Linked DNA regions of Homo sapiens: all the other regions are linked to region 1. Evidence: promoter capture Hi-C in human tissues and cell types (Jung and others, 2019). All regions are on one chromosome and are shown on one strand. Each heading gives the region's core, a stretch centred on a gene start or on the middle of the fragment in contact. The rest is flanking DNA. Distances are from core to core; before and after follow the strand shown. Region 1 holds the start of HP (haptoglobin). Region 2 overlaps DHODH (dihydroorotate dehydrogenase (quinone)). Region 3 overlaps DHX38 (DEAH-box helicase 38).

Region 1 (2,700 bases), core at 32-2,531:
TCCCTCAGACACCGCAAAGATAGTGGTAATAAAATGTAGATAACTCAGAGATGGGAACTTTGGGCTTACTGTGCTATTCCTCTACTTCTTGATATTTTCCGTAATAAAAGGTTCCTTAAATATATAATTTTAAACACGTGGGTATTTCTAGTATTTTATAATAATTCACCTTTAGGAAATGGTATCTGAAACCCCAAAATGCCAGAAGGTTACCTGGAAGAGAACTGGTGTCCAAAAGCAGGACGGTGGCCATGGGCATTGACCCACAGGTGCCGTCTGCCAGTTCACCATCTCACTAACAAATGCCAACCATTCGGGCACTACTTGCTTCTATTAAAATAGTTTCTAGGCCAGACACGGTGGCTCATGCCTGTAATCCCAGCACTTTGGGAGGCCAAGGCAGGCAGATCACGAGGTCAAGAGATCGAGGTCATCCTGGCCAACATGGTGAAAGCCCGTCTCTACTAAAAATACAAAAATTAGGTGGGCATAGTGGCGCACGCCTGTAGTCCCAGCTACCTGGGAGGCTGAGGCAGGAGAATCACTTGAACCTGGGAGGTGGAGGTTGCAGTGAGCCGAGATCATGCCACTGCACTGCAGCCTGGTGACAAAGCGAGACTCCATCTCAAAAAAAAAAAAAGTTTCTAGTCTTATTATTTCAACATTTCAAAAAGTGTTTATTTTTATAAGATCTAAGTGCCTTAATTAGATGTATCCCAGGTATTAGTGTGTATCCCAGGTACTAGTCAATTAATTGTGTCATTCAAATGTGTTACTATTAGTCTTCCTTATTGTACATTTTTAAAGAGGAAAATATCTGCTAATAAATATACTCAGGATGCCAGGAAGCCTACCACGGGAGCTGATGACATACCCTATAAAGTCAAAAATGTAACCTGAAGGAAAAAGACACTCCTGAGAGTAAATCTTATCTCCTGGGAAAGACAGCAGCACTGTCTTCTATGGATGCAGAAAAGGAGAAGATTTAACACACTAAGCCCTTTGGTTCACTATAATTTAGCCCATTTGCCCGTTTCTTTGTTCTATTTCTGCATCTCTACCGATGTATGCAAAAAAGACTGAAATAAAGAACCAGAGGAAAGGCAGGAGGGAAAGCTGTGGACCCACCTCATCTTGGTTGGTCTTGCCTCTGGAAGAGCAGTGCTGTGGGGCATCTGCTGGTCTTTTTATGCTGCCACTAGCTCACTTCTCCCCCTTCTCCATTTCGTAATTCCTGTGTCTACAAACTTTGGCCCTGGTAAGGTCACTATCTTTTCCAGTAACAAAACCACAAACAATACCCCTGTTAAGAGTTGAGCTCTTGCTTCACACTTGATTTTCTTGTGATGTTCTATTACAAATCCCAAGAAACCTGGCAACTCTATGACCCACAAACCTGCCAAAGTATTTCCTGAAATCAGCAACTGGGCAGGACAGGGCGGCGGCAGGAACCATCAATCTGTCTCTTTATCTTGGAGGATTTTCACACTGCAGAAAGGCTCATTTTGAGTTTTTTCAAACCCATTGTAGACATTTCTGCAGCCTAGCTTAGGTGGGGCTCTAAAGAAAGTACTTCCTTTTCACAGTAATTTTCTCCACCTTGTGTGTGGCCATCTCCCTATTGCTTAAAAGCTCTCCAGCCTGAAATCAGTAAATGTGTTTATTGTGTCTTCTCTGATTGCTCTTTGCAAGAAATCACACAACTAGTTAAAGCTATAGTGTAGACTGACACAGACTATACTCAATGGCAGTGGTTCTCATGGTTTTATAGTCTGGTGATTAGCCTAAATAGGCAGATGAGAAAAATCAATATGTCTCAGTCAAATGTCTGCACCTGTGTGTATCCCAGGTACTAGTCAACTGAAACTTAGTAGCAACTCAATACAAGGTTGATTTATTCATTAAAAAGGGTTAGTTGTTCTTAAATTAGAGTGTACAAAAGAATTACTTTTGGATAATCATGGTGACACTGATATAATAGCAAAGTAACTAGAAACAAGACAAATGCCCATCAACAGGAGGAAGGGTCAATACTGCATTGTATGTGGATATAATGGAATATTATACAGCATAAAATGAATAAACTCTGCAAGAACATGGATCATCTTATAAACATAATTTTTGAAAGAAAACCGCAAGTTTCAGAAGATTACCTTCAGTATGATGGCAGTCTTCTAGAGATCAAAACCAAGTAAAACTTGGCAATGGATTCTTAGATAATGACACCAAAATCACCAGCAATCAAAGAAAAATTAGATAAATTGGGCTTCATCGGAATGAACATTTGTGTATCAAAAGACAGTATTAATAAAATGAAGACAGGCCAGGCGTGGTGGCTCACGCCTGTAATCCCAGCACTTCGGGAGGCTGAGGTGGGCGGATCATGAGGTCAGGAGTTTGAGACCAGCCTGACCAATGTGGTGAAATTCCATCTCTACTAAAAATACAAAAATTAGCCAGGCATGGTGGCGCATGCTTTAATCCCAGCTACTCGGAGGCTGAGGCAGGAGAATTGCTTGAACCTGGGAGGCAGAGGTTGCAGTGAGCCTAGATCGCACCACTGCACTCCAGCCTGGGTGACAGAACAAGACTCTGTCTCAAAAAAAAAAGTGAAGACAGTCTACAGAATGGGAGAAAATATTTGCAAATTCTATATCTGATAAAGGGTTGTTATCCAGAGCATATCCTAACTACAACAAC
Region 2 (2,700 bases), core at 91-2,590, 33 kb after region 1:
CAGGACTGCCGGCCTGTGCACTCTCCGCAAGCCATCCCTCTCCTGCAGCACCTAGGGCGACACACGGCCAGAGCTGGGGACCCCGCAGACCACAGCCCTGCAGTGCAGCTGTGACCTACGCTGCAGGTCAGTGGGTTTCCACAATAGCGATCAAACTAAAGCAGAAACAATTTCTTTTCAGGAAAGCCAGCCCTCAGACGTGAGGAGTACAGTCGAGATGGATCCGATTCCATTCTTTTAGGCCAAGGGATCCCGTGGACATTGGCTAATAGCTCAAGGGTGTTTTAGACTTTTCTTTTCTTTTTTTTTTTTTTTTTTTGAGACAAGGTCGCACTCTGTCACCCACACTGGAGTGTAGTAGCATGATCACGGCTCACTGTAGCCTGCACCTCCCTGGGCTCAGGCGATCCTTCCACTTCAGCCTCCAGAGTATCAGGGACTACAGGTGTGCACCACCATGCCCAGCTAATTTCTGTATTTCTTGTAAGATGGGGTTTTGCCAAGTTGCCCAGGCTGGTCAGCTCCTGAGCTCAAGTGATCTGCCTGCCTCGGCCTCCAAGTAGCTGGGGCTATAGGCTTGAGCCACTGTGCCTGGCTAATTTTTAAATTTTTGTAGAGACAGGGTCTTGCTCTTTTGCCCAGGCTGGTCTCAAATTCCTGGGTTATAAGTGATCCACCTGCCTTGGCCTCCCATAGTGCTGGTATTACAGGCATGAGCCACGGTGTCCAACGTTTTTTAGACTTTTATTCCTAAAAGATAACCAGGAAATATTACCACATGTACTGGGTGATGAAGTCCTTCAGTTCACTCAGAGCTCTGGGCGCTAGGGTCAGAGTGACAAATGAGAGAGACGTGGTGTCTGCTCTTACAGACCCCGTGATTTATAGCAGCAGGGACAGATAATTTGTCACCGTCGCATATAATCAGTGTCATGAGAGGGGATCAGAGGGGACTCTGGGAAGGTATAGCCAGGGGTCCTACTGGTCTAGGTGCTAAGGACAGCTTCTGAGGGTGATGCTGAAGGTTCGCCCTGGAGAATGAAGGGGAGCAGGTGGGACAGGCTGGTGGGACAGGGCCTGGAGAGGGGTGCAGCTGCCCACCTTGGTCAGCAGGCGGCGCAGCTCGGCCTTTCCCTGAAGGCTCCGCAGCCCGGCAGTGTTGGGGCTGGACACATTCACCACCAGGTAGTCGGCCAGGGGGCCCAGTACGCGCACCCCTTCTGCGTAGTCCTCCGCGGCGTCCACTGAGGTCTTGTTCTTCCCCAAGTTGACCCCCAGAGGCAGTCCATCTGCAAACATCGCTGGTCAGGCCTGCACCCCGCACACCCTTTCCTGTGCCACCTTCTGAGGCTGCCCTTGACCAAACCACCTGTGGACAGCCGCGCAGGCCTTCCCTCCAAACCTGACCTGCCCGACACCGGCTGACAGGTGCTCAACTGCGGCCTGGGCCCGCCTGCTGACCAAAACCACTCACTGGCTTTGTCTAGCAAAGTCTGGGCAGCTACGAGGATGTTTTGCTGCATTTTGCCCTTTTTATTTTTAAAATTTTCATGGAAAATGGACAAATTACTGCAAATACTTGTGGGGCAAAAGATGGGCCTCATAAATTGAATAAAACTGAGAACAGAGAGAACTCAGTAGGCACATCAGGCCCGCAACTCTCACCTCAAGGAATGCTTGTTGGCCTTGGCTCGGTTGACTGGATGTACAGTTGCGAAGAAAAAACAAAATGAAAGAACATGTATAAAATACTGAAAAACAGGCCAGGTGCGGTGGCTCACGCCTATAATCCCAGCACTTTGGGTGGTCAAGGGCAGAGGATTGCTTGAGCCCAGGAATTCAAGACCAGTCTGGGCAACATGGTGAAACCCTATCTCTATAATTGAAAACTCAGCCGGGAGCAGTGGTGCACACCTGTAGTCCTAGCTGCTCGGGAGGCTGAAGTAGGATTGAGGCTCCAATGAACCGTGATCGCGCCACTGCACTCCAGCCTAAGGAGCAGAGCAAGACTCTGTCTCAAAAAAAAGAAAAAAAAAAAAAATATATATATATATACACATATATATATATATATATATATATACACATATACATATACACATATATATATACTGGAAAATGTTTTTTGTTTTTTTTTTTGAGATGGAGTCTCACTGTTGCCCAGGCTGGAATGTGGTGGCACAATCTTGGCTCACTGCAACCTCCGTCCCCTGAATTCAAGCAATTCTCCTGTCTCAGCCTCCTGAGTAGCTGGGATTACACGCATGTGCCACCACGCCCAGCTAATTTTTGTATTTTTAGTAGAGATGGGGTTTCACCATGTTGGCCAGGATGGTCTCCATCTCCAGACCTCATGATCTGCCCACCTCAGCCTCCCAAAGTGCTGGGATTACAGGCGTGAGCCACTGCAACCGGCCTAATTTTTGTATTTTTAGTAGAGAAGGGGTTTCACCATGTTGGCCAGGCTGGTCTCAAACCCCTGACCTCAAATGATCCGCTTGCCTTGGCCTTCCAGAGTGTTAGGATTACAGGCGTGAGCCACCATGCCCGGCCAAATGTTTTCAATTATCATGCCTAAAATGTAGAGGTGTAATTGTTTTCTAACTTATAATTTTAGTTCTCTGAGGAAAGGGACTCTCCCTCATATAATAACTGAGGGTACCCTGTATCTTAGGTGCTCCCTGGACAACCTGATTACTC
Region 3 (2,700 bases), core at 201-2,700, 54 kb before region 1:
GACTATTCGACAGGACAAATGACCTGGCTGCTCCAATAAATCAATGTCATGAAAAAAAGCGTGGGGTGGAGCCTGTTCTAGAATGAAACAGTTAACACACATAAGCAGTTGCAATGCCTGGATCCTAATTCAAGCAAATCGATCATAAGAAGTTATCTTTGAGATAAATGGAGAAATCCAAATGCGGACTGGAGACTTAGGTGACATTAAGTATTCATTTTTTTATGAGTGATAACGGCACAGAGGTTATATTTAAAATTTTAAGTCCTTTTAGTCAGAGACACATACTCAAGTATTTATGGATGAATAATGTATGAGATAAGCTTTAAAATATTCCAGAAAAAAAAAATGGATGTGTGTGGAGTGGGGTAGGAATAGTGAAATTGAACAAACGTTGACAATTATAGAGGCAAGGCAACGAATTCATGGTGGCCTGTTGTACTGTTTTTCCCACTTTCATGAATATTTGGACTTTTCAATAATGAGTTTTTTGGTTTTGTTTTTAAAGGCTCAGCCTACCAAACAACTGGAGTGGGTGGTGGGGAATCAGACAGACCCAGCCTGCTGGATCACAGCCTTTATGTTTGCAGAGAGAAGTAAGTGGGTTGGATGACCGCAAGTCTTCAATACCAAGCGGAGGGAACACCGACCCCACAGGCAAACAGCACCCCTGCGAAGAGCACAGAATCCTCACCTGCCGTGACTTGCCCGCCTGTTTCACGCTATAGAACATGGGGCCCAGCTCCGCCAGCCACTCCCCGTCCACAGCGGTCACACACTGCATATACTCCTGCGGGCAGAAGGGCAGGGAGGCGAGGGTCACAGGAGGGCCAATGTCCCTCCCAGAGTGGTTCCACAATTAGGAGCCACATGGGAAGGGCCCAATCCCTGGCCCTGCAAGGCTGAAAAAAGGAAAGGAAAAACCCCAGATACTCCCATCCAAACTCCTCCACACTTGAGAAAATGCCCCCAGTATCTAAAAGAAAAGGCCCAACCCCTCCGAAAATCCTTCTAATGACACCAAGAGGGGTTGCTCATCCCAAGCAGCAAGTGGGGAACAATCGTGCCCATGCAGCTGAGGTCAATGCAGTCTAGAGGTCAACCCTGTGCAGAGCTTCCCCAAGTCCCCAAATGAAAACCAACCTCACATGCCCCGCAAAACAATGCATGTGGCCTCAAGGCTCCCAGGCTAAAAGCTCATGCCAGAACGCAGTGAAGGGTTTCAAAGCCTGGCCAGACAGGGGGCCTGCATTATGCAAGTGCCTTGGAAAAGACTCACCTTGGTGGTCATGACCAACTCGTGATACACTATGTAATCTGGGGTGTAGCCCATTCCAAAAAGGGAGCTGGTGGGGTGCAAGTGGCAGGGCATCCCTGTGCGGATGTTCACGTACTCCCCGATTCCCTAGGGAGGAGACACAACAGGCAGCCACATCAGGAAAACAACACCCATTTGGGCAGCGACCCCATCCCTTAACACTCTTGACACAGCCTTTGGCGGAAGCCCAGATCTGCAGAACCACACCAGGACAAAGGAAGAACTTTGCCCTTATACAGGTATCAGGCTGGGAGGGGCTCACTGGGCTCCTGGGTTCACCTTGAGCTTGGCTGCTTGGTGGAAATAGGCAGCACAGATGCACTTCCTGACGATGTCCCAGTCAGTGCCACACGAGGCCAGGCTCATCCGCTGCTGCACCATGATGTCCTTGAGTTGAGCTCGCACCTCCCGGACCTAGGGCAGGAGACGGAGGCACCAGGAGGGAGCCCTCCTTTCCTCTCGACCCTCCCCTCATCCCAACATCCTGCTCATCCACCACTCTACCTTCCGCATGGCCTTAGCATGGATGAAATGATCGTTACACCAGATGGTGGAGTAATTATTGTTCTTCCACTGCAGGTAAACATTCAGGTAGGTCAAATGATCGCTCTCAGGAACAGCGAACTTCTCCCGGATTTGATCACTCTCCTCCTCTCGACCCTAGGAAGGGAAAAAGAACCTTCACTCTAAGTACAGGGGGGTCCAGGCCCACTGAGCACATCCCAGAGGTTCTAACACTACCACCTACCCACACATAGAACTTCAAACATGTCAATAGGTTGCCCTGACAATTTGAGAAAAATTAAAATAATTTTTAAAAAGGTCTACTCTAAAACATGAGGGCTCAAGAGCAACCATACTAGAAGATAAAAAATGCTCTTGCAAATTTCCAAAGCATTCCCTGAGAACCACTGGCCCAGCCCTTCCTTTCCCCTACCCCAACCTGCTTAACCGAGAACAGCAAAATCATTCTTCAGAAACTCTGATTCTGCCCTCTGTTCCATTTCAGTAATACAGAGAGAAGCCATTCCCCTCCCCAACACTTCCTCGAGCCCTCCGGGGAGAGGGGAGCCAGCCGCTGCCCCACCTTGGGCCTGTAGAAGATGGCTGGGACCGAGAGCATGGAAACGATGAGCAGGATCTCGGAGCTGCAGCCCATGTCACAGGACACGATGAGCATCTTGGACAGGGCAGGGTCCAGCGGGAACTCCACCATCAGCCGCCCGGTAGAGGTCAGACCACCTAGGAGAGATGAGCAAACCCGGATATTTGACGGGACAGTAGAGGAAAGAAGGAAGTCAAGCGCCAGCACCCATGAGGCTCCCGGGGCCGCCTCACCTGTGTTGTCCAGGGCCCCGAGGATCCAGAGCTGATACATAGAG

What was found. Contacts are between HindIII fragments. The study calls those that stand out against the background at their distance.
Region 2: a fragment that was not itself captured here is called in contact with the fragment with the promoter of HP in region 1 in 5 of the 25 tissues and cell types used here (bladder, liver, mesenchymal stem cells and 2 more).
Region 3: a contact is called between a fragment that was not itself captured here and the fragment with the promoter of HP in region 1, in 1 of the 25 tissues and cell types used here (thymus).

Annotation. Positions count from the first base shown.
Region 1 is chr16:72,053,086-72,055,785 of GRCh38, reverse strand. HP (haptoglobin) reads right to left here and starts at 1,281. Exons shown (of 7, transcript NM_005143.5): 1 at 1,129-1,281. The coding sequence starts at 1,133. The HindIII fragment of the contact is 10,372 bases long and covers 1-2,700 here.
Region 2 is chr16:72,019,713-72,022,412 of GRCh38, reverse strand. DHODH (dihydroorotate dehydrogenase (quinone)) reads right to left here. Exons shown (of 9, transcript NM_001361.5): 5 at 1,102-1,289; 6 at 1-51. Among named protein-coding and RNA genes, the nearest start is that of DHODH, 12 kb to the right of the region's middle. The HindIII fragment of the contact is 9,035 bases long and covers 1-2,700 here.
Region 3 is chr16:72,107,505-72,110,204 of GRCh38, reverse strand. It overlaps DHX38 (DEAH-box helicase 38), which reads right to left. Exons shown (of 27, transcript NM_014003.4): 20 at 2,657-2,700; 21 at 2,406-2,560; 22 at 1,823-1,978; 23 at 1,598-1,732; 24 at 1,280-1,405; 25 at 695-790. Among named protein-coding and RNA genes, the nearest start is that of DHX38, 15 kb to the right of the region's middle. RefSeq lists an enhancer at 1,491-2,690. The HindIII fragment of the contact is 9,973 bases long and covers 1-2,700 here.